2 separate regions of the Homo sapiens genome follow, and region 1 is linked to region 2. Evidence: promoter capture Hi-C in human tissues and cell types (Jung and others, 2019). All regions are on one chromosome and are shown on one strand. Each heading gives the region's core, a stretch centred on a gene start or on the middle of the fragment in contact. The rest is flanking DNA. Distances are from core to core; before and after follow the strand shown.

What was found. Contacts are between HindIII fragments. The study calls those that stand out against the background at their distance.
Region 1: the fragment with the promoter of CD248 here is called in contact with the fragment with the promoter of SNX15 in region 2 in 1 of the 25 tissues and cell types used here (spleen).

The regions. Positions count from the first base shown.
Region 1 is chr11:66,315,577-66,319,550 of GRCh38, forward strand. CD248 (CD248 molecule) reads right to left here and starts at 1,468. Exons shown (of 1, transcript NM_020404.3): 1 at 1-1,468. The coding sequence starts at 1,451. RefSeq lists enhancers at 217-913, 3,470-3,971, 3,972-3,974 and a silencer at 1,397-1,666. The HindIII fragment of the contact is 8,045 bases long and covers 1-3,974 here.
Region 2 is chr11:65,025,542-65,029,585 of GRCh38, forward strand. It overlaps SNX15 (sorting nexin 15), which reads left to right and starts at 1,898. Exons shown (of 8, transcript NM_013306.5): 1 at 1,898-2,095. The coding sequence starts at 1,997. ARL2-SNX15 (ARL2-SNX15 readthrough (NMD candidate)) reads left to right here. Exons shown (of 11, transcript NR_037650.2): 4 at 1,777-2,095. It also overlaps the pseudogene EEF1A1P18. RefSeq lists an enhancer at 1,716-2,010 and a silencer at 1,860-2,029. The HindIII fragment of the contact is 29,710 bases long and covers 1-4,044 here.

The DNA of each region.
Region 1 (3,974 bases), core at 218-2,717, 1.3 Mb after region 2:
ACGGGGATCTGGTGGTCACGGGACAAAGCTGGGTGTGTGGCAGGGATCACAGGAGGCTGGTGGGCAGAAGGCAGTGTGGGATGCGTGGCAGAGACCACCACAGGCCGGGTGACGGAGAGCACTGAGGAGTGGTAGGGGACCCTGGGGGCACTGAGCGGGGGTGGCCAGGTGGGCTCCGGGTAGGGTATCTGTGGCTCTCTGTCCTCTGGGAAGCTCGGTCTATAGGCCAGGGCAAAGTCAGGCGGCTGCGTAGGCTCCATCCACAGGATCCCAGGCATCTCCGTCCAGCCACCGTTGAAGGCCTTCCAGGCCTCGTCTTCATCTTCCTCATCCTCCCCGTCATCCAGCAACTCATCTCCGAGGTCCTGGGAAGCCTGGGCACCCATGGCCCCTGCAGGGCTGCAGCTGATGCCATCAGCCTCCAGCTCATGTCCCTCGCTACAATAACACTCGAAGCCACCAACGTAGTTGACACACATCTGCTGGCACACACCGGCAATCTGGCACTCATCTGTGTCCACACAGCGGTGCGGATCATCCTCCGCTGGCCGGAAACCCAGGCGACAGTGGCAGCTGTAGCCTTGTGGCCCACCGGGCTCACACTGCTGCTCGCACGGAGCCTGGGCACAGGGGTCCTCGCAACTGCGCCCGTCTGCTGCCAGCCGGAAGCCCTCAGTGCAGCGGCAGGACACGTGACCATCCACCTCCTCCACACATTCGTGTTCGCAGCCCCCGTTGTCAGGGCTGCAGCCAGTCCCCAGGCACAGGGGCCCAGCCCGTGACCAGCCCACACCTCCCTCAGGCTGCTTCACGCAGAGCAGAGAGGCTCCCCTGCCAGCCTGGCACTGCACAGCGGCCACAGAGCCGAAGGGCAGCCACTCAAACTCTGTGGAGACCAGGTGGAAGGGCGTGGTATACACGGCTGGGCCGGCCTGGCCCGCCTCATCTTGCAGCGCCGGGCAGGCGCCCTCGAAGCCAAACTGGCACAGGTAGCCGTCGACAGCCAGCGTGCACGAGCCCTCCAGCCAGCGGTGCTCGCCACTTGCCTCCAGGGCCACACAGCGCTGGGCCGGGCAGGGGCCTCCAGAGGCTGGCTGGGCCCAGTTGGTGAAAGCCGTGTCCTGGTCCCCTGTGGTCCACGTGAAGCCGCGCAGTGGGCGCTGCAGCTGGCATTGCCGGGCCTGCCGCTGCAGCCCGATCCACAGCAGCCGGCTGGCTGGGCCCGCACCCACCAGGCTGTCCACACGCTGGGCCTCCTCGGGGGTCCGAGGAGTGGCCAGGTCGCCCCCCAGCTCGCGGCAGGCCCGCCAGGCCTCCAGGAAGGTGCGGCGCCGTGGGAAGAGAGCGTAGCAGCTGCTGGGGCCGCAGGCGGCACGGGGCTCAGCAGCCCAGGGGTCCTGGCCCAGTGTGGGCCCTGCGGCCGCCCAGGCCAGCAACAGGCGCAGCAGCATCGCGATGCCCCCGGACTGGTCCGGCCCCGGGCTGGCGGCAGCTCTTGACAGGGGGAGGGCCTGGGGCCTCCTGCGGGCGGGCCGGGGGCGGGCCTGGGGCCGGGCTCAGGCCTTGTAAGGAGTGGGCTGGGGCGGCTGCCAGCTCCCTGCTCCCTCTTCCCCGGGGGCCGCTAGAGCAGGAAGCAGTGGGGTGGGGGGCTCTAAGGTTGGGGGCGGAGGAGGGGAGAAGGCGCAGTTGACGGCTGCCCCAGGCCCCATGGGGCTGAGAGTCAGGGGGTGGGAAAAGCCTGCCTGCCGAGCTCTGTGACCCTCAAGTTGGGGCTCGGGGCTGTGGGGTGAGGTCGCTTCCCAGAGACTCAGAGACCCAAATCTGGACACAGCAGCCCCATCACACCCGGGAGCAGTCTCAGCCCAGCTGCTCGCCATGCACGGGAACACCCTCATGCCCACTCCTTTCTTGCCCCACAGACGCGCGCATGCGCCTCCCCCACCCCCAACCCCATGCAAGAGTGCACTCTCTGCCAAGCTGTTTGTCCCTTCACCTCACCGTGGACCTATGCTGGCTTGCAGATGACTCCCTTGCCACACGTACACACATTCTGACATGCTGAGACCCTAGGTGCACATACAAAAATGGTGTGGCATTCTACATGGCCTGACATATGAAGACCTCCGATTCGGCCTGAATGGAAACAGCTTGGTCACCCAGGCACAGGCATCCTCAGCCTCTCATTTATTTACTGAGCCCCTGCGTCAGCCTCTCCCCCTATACTCAAGCTTTCTGGTTCCAGCTGGGCCAGCGTGTGGGGGTGTTGGGGGAGTGAGGGGGCCAGGGGCTGCCCTCCCCTCACCCCAGCTCAGCCTGGGGCCCTGGGAACCTGGGCTTAGAGGGGGAGGAGGCAGCCCCTAAACAGGAAATGCCTCTCTGGGCTCCTGCGTCAGGAAGGCAGGGTGCGTGGTTTAGGGGGCTGGGTGGGGGCTGGGCTGCACGCAGGATGTGGAAGGCTGTGAGGGGACCCATGCAAGGCCATGTATGGGCATGGGGCACACAGTGACATATATGTGTATATGTGACACAGGCATCACGTGTGTGGAGCCCTCCCTGCCCCCGGGGCCTGCTGTTTCGGCCTGGCCAGGGTCCTCTTCCCGCCCTTCCTGGAGGCCTCTGGAGGCATGTGCACTGAGCCCATCATCCAGGATGGCCTCTGGGGAGCTGGCTGGCGGATTAACCCATGCACACCCGCTGCACTCTTAGCAGAAGTTAGAAACAGTGTGGGGAGGTGGGGGAGAGGTTCCGCCCTTCAGTAAACTGCCCTGATGCAGCTTCCCCCTCTGCCACAGATGGATCGACTTTGTGACTGCAGGGGAGTCACTGGCCCTCTCTGGGTCTCCTTTTTTCTCAGTTGCAACATGAGGGCAATGAGTCCAGGATTTTTAGCTCAGCAGGGCTGAGATATTGCGTCACAGCGCTCAGTGTTTGCAAATGTGCTTTGTCAGCTGTGGAGCCTGAAGCAAATGTTCCTGTCTTCTGAGCATATGTGGTGGGTGGAGACCAGGGTGCGTTTTTGCAAACCACCTTACAGTGCCTAGGCTGGCCCTGCAGACCCAGCCAGCCCCTCGAGAACCAGGGCTTAGGAAGTTCTTGCCATATGCCTGGAAGTTCCTTCTTACAAGGTCTATACATGTGAAGCACACAGAATGACTCCCCTTCTCAGGAGACAAAAGTCAAGATGGAGGAGTTCATCCTTCTGTTGGCTCAGGCCCCAAACCTTGAGGTCATGCTTGACTCCTCTCTTTCTCCCACAGCCCACATCCAGTCTCTCAGCAAATCCTGTTGGCTTCACTTTCAAAAGAGATCCAGAATCTGACCACTCCTGGACACCTTCTTTGCCACCCACCCCCGGCCCAGGTGGCTAGCAACGCCAATCTAGATTTCCCCAACAGCCTCTCCCGTGGTGTCTCTCTTGCCCTCTCCATCCTGCCAGAGGGATCCTTTCAAAATCCAAGTCAGATCTGATCACTTCTCCATTCAGAACCCTCTGAGCCCCCCATCTCGCTTAGAGGAAGGGCCACAGTCCTTGCCATGGCCTCCTGGTCTATGTCATCTGCCTCCAAACTCTGGCCTCATTGCTGTTCCTTAAATGCTCCAGACACTCTGCCTCACAGCCTTGGTCTTGGCTGTTCCTGCTGCCTGGAATGCTCTTCCTCCAATATAAAAATGCTCTGCTTCTTTACCTTCTCCAGGGCTCAGCTCAAGTACCAGAGTCCTTGACCATCTCACCCCACCCCACACCGCCCCCTGGGGCTCCTTGACCACTGGATCTTCCTGCATTTTCTCGCTCTGCACTTATCACTATCTGACATTAAATATATTTACTTGTGAAATTAGTTGGACGTGGTGGTGCACCTGTAATCCCAGCTACTCGGGAGGCTGAGGCAGGAGAATCATTTGAACCTGGGAGGTGGAGGTTGCAGTGAGCCAAGATTGCGCCACTGCACACTCCAGCCTGGGCGACAGAGCAA
Region 2 (4,044 bases), core at 648-3,147:
ACCAAGAGCTTGTGAGTTGGTGGTAGGATGTGATCTAGAGCTTCCGAGCAGCGTGGTTCCACAGCATCGCCATCTTTACAGGTGACTTTCCATCCCTTGAGCCAAGGCATGTGAGCTCTTGGCTCCCGCCTGTTGTGACCACTCCAACCAGATATTGGCACAAATACTACTATGTCAGAGTTGTAGCCAATTTCTTAATGTAGGTGCTGATTTCCTTAATGATTTCTCCCATCTCTCCTTTTTTTTTTTTTTTTTTTTTTGAGACGGAGTCTCACTCTGTCCTCTGTCTCCCAGGCTGGAGTGCAGTGGCACGATCTCAGCTCACTGCAACCTCTGCCTCCTGGTTTCAGGCAATTCTCTGCCTCAGCCTCCCAAGTAGCTGGGATTACAGGCACCCGCCACCATGCCCAGCTAATTTTTGTATTTTTAGTAGAGACGGGGTTTCACCATCTTGGTCAGGCTGGTCTTGAACTCCTGACTTCCTAATCCACCCACCTCTGCCTCCCAAACTGCTGGGATTACAGGCGTGAGCCACCACGCCCGGCCCCCATCTCTCCTCTTTAGGGTGGCTCATTGGGATCCATTTTGTTAACACCAACAATTAGTTTCACACCCAGCGTGTAAGACAGAAGGGTGTGCTCACGCGTCTGCCCATTCTTGGAATTACCAGCTTCAAATTCATCAACACCAGCAGCAACAATCAGGACAGCACAATTAGCCTGAGGTCAGGTTTTTGATAAAGTCTCTGCATCCTGGGCCATTGAGGATGGTCACATAGTACTTGCTGGTCTCAATTGCCAGCAGGGAGGTATCAGTGGTGATACCACTCTCACGTTCAACTTTCAGCTTACCCAAGACCCAGGTATGCTTGAAGGAGCCCTTTCCCATCTCAGCAGCTTCCTCAAAATTGTCGATGGTTCTTTTGTGGATCCCACCACACTTGTAGATCAGATGGCCAGTAGTGCTGGACTTGCCCAAATCAGATGATGATGTTGAGCTGAGTCTTTTCCCTCCCCTGCTCCCTTTCTTTTGAGATGGAGTCTCACTCTGTTGCCCAGGCTGGAGTGCAGTGGTGTGATTGCAGCTCACTGCAGCCTCAACCTCCTGGGCTGAAGCCATCAGCCAGCTCAGCCCCTGGAGTAGCTGGAATTACAGGCGTGCGCCACCACGCCCAGCTAATTTTTGTATTTTTAGTAGAAACGGGGTTTCACCATGTTGGCCAGGCTGGTCTTGAACTCCTGACCTCAAGTGATCCACCTGCCTCCACTGCCCAAAATGCTGGGATTACAGGCGTGAACCACCGCGCCAAACCCCCATTTTGGCTTTGATTTAACGGTGGTTTTCACGACACCTGTGTTCTGGCAGCAAACCCATCGCAAAAAAGCTCCACTGCCCTACACAGATTCTATTATAAACATCTCCATTCTACAGATGAGAAACTGAGGCTGAGTAGTTAAGGGAAACTCCTACAGCTAGTAAGAGTCGTGACTCAGAGCCCATGACACCATCCTGCTTCTCCAACCTTCTTTGCTTCCTCTACTTTCCAGAAAACATGAATTAGGGAATCCTGTGGAGGGAGACAGGGAAATAATTTGACGTTGTCCTGTACATACTGGACACAATAAGAGTTGGGTGGATGAACGAAAGCAGGGATTTAGGAAGCGGGGAGAAGTCGTTTGGAAGTCTGTGACAAGGGTTTACGCTTGGATAGGGTGGGCTTGATCACCCGGCAGAAATGAGACGAGTGATCCCAGCCTTCCCAACCAATCTTTCCAGTGACCTGGGTTTACGCTTCACCACAGAGAAGGAACTTTTCAGACGCTCCCTTGGCCGCGCACCCGGGATCGGAACAGCGCTGTCACTTGCGACAAAATCCCTAGGCCAGAGGAAGAAGAGCGCAGGCCTGGCGAGGCGGCGGCGGGCGGAGGCTGGGCCGGAGGGGTGGGGACGGCGAGGAGGTGGAGGCCGGCGCTCCGCTCCGCTCCAGCTCGGTTTCATGTCCCGCCAGGCGAAGGATGACTTCCTGCGGCACTACACAGTGTCGGACCCCAGGACTCACCCCAAGGGCTACACCGAGTACAAAGTAACCGCGCAGGTGAGGTGGGGCCCAGCGCGTACTTTACCCTTTTAACTAGAGGGGCGCCGAGTTTTACCTTAAGGAAAGGCGGTGCAGCCACTGCTCCCTTTTTAGACGACAGAAATGGGTTTCCCCTTTAAGGGGAGGTTGCAGTACGAGGCTTAGTTTACATCTTTAACCACCAGGGGGCGGGGTCCTGGGTGGGCGCTGTCTTTTTTAAAAGGGCGTTGACGGCCGTTCCCGGACAGGCAAGGCGTGTATGCCCACGCCCGGAGTGTAGTGTCTGGGCATCAGGCTGTGAATTTCTCTAAATTAACATGAAAACTCTGGTTTAATCCAAATATTAGTACTCCATTCTCGTAGAGTAAGTTTTGTTTATTGGTTTGTTTGATGTTACATAAACTCCCTTTAACGAGTTTAACCATTTTTAATTTTTCAAAAAATAATACTGATCAGTGGTTGAAAAAAATTGATGCAGTTCAGAAGGACTTAAGGAGTAAGTCGCCATATCAAGGTCACAGCAGGAAGATAGATAGGCTAGAGTTGATATATGAAGCGATAACAACATCATAAGCACAATTTATAGAGAGACATGGAGGAAACCATGACAATAATTAAAAATGAAACAGTAAAACAGGACACCTGTAGAATGATAACAAGAACTGGTAACAAGGAAGGTCCCCAGGGAGAGGAACTGTGTCACTGGGGACAGGAGTTAGGGGAAGACTTTTTACTGTAAATTTTTTGTACTTTTAGAATTTTCAACCAGGCGACTATTAAGCTGGTGCATTAGTTAACTCTAAAAGCAAAGCAGGCACATAAGGACACTTCCAAAGTGATCTAAGTGCAGAATCTTAGCTATTTAAAATATGCTTTCCCCAAACCGTTTACGTCTTTTCCATGCCTAAAAATAATGCAAATAAGGCCGGGCTCAGTGGCTCATGCCTGTAAATCCCAGCACTTTGGGAGGCTGAGGCAGCAGATTGCTTGAGCTCAGGAGCTCAAGACGAGCCTGGGCAACATAGTGAGACCCCGGATCAATATTAAAATACAGACACACACACAACTTTAAAAAAAAAAAAAAAAAAAGCAAATAAATAGATTGTCCCTGGGAAGATAGACTGGAGGTGGGGCTGGGGTGGGGAGGATGTGGCAAGGAACTGTAACCTTTTATTATAAGTCTTCCCAGTGGTGGCCGGGCGCGGTGGCTCACGCCTGTAATCCCAGCACTTTGGGAGGCCGAGGCGGGCGGATCACGAGGTCAGGAGATCGAGACCATCCTGGCTACCATGGTGAAACCCCATCTCTACTAAAAATACAAAAACTTACGGGCGTGGCAGCGTGCACCTGTAGTCCCAGGTACTCGGGAGGCTGAGGTAGAAGAATGGAGTGAACCCGGGAGGTGGAGCTTGCAGTGAGCCGAGATTGTGCCACTGCACTCCAGCCTGGGAGACAGAGCGAGACTCCGTCTCAAAAATATAAATAAATAAATAAATAAATAAATAAATAAAAATAAGTCTTCCCAGTGGCTTTTTTGTGTCGTTGTTTTGTTTTGTTTTTGAGACAGAGTCTCACTGTCGCCCAGACTGGAGTGAAGTGACTCGATCTCAGCTCACTGCAAACTTCCGTCGCCCGGGTTCAGATTCTCCCACCTCAACCTCCCAGGTAGCTGGGACTACAGGCACGCGTCACCATGCCCAGCTAATATTCGTATTTTTTGGCAGAGATGGGGTTTCACCATGTTGGCCAGAATGGTCTCGATCTCTTGACCTCATGATCCACCCGCCTTGGCCTCCCAAAGTGCTGGGATTACAGGTGTGAGCCACCACACCCGGCCTCCCATTGGCTTTTTAAACCAAGCAACATGCATTACTTTGATATATTTTTATACATATTATATAATACAATGTATTATATATAATAAATATAAAATATAAAGCACATAATATATAAATATATGTATGTAT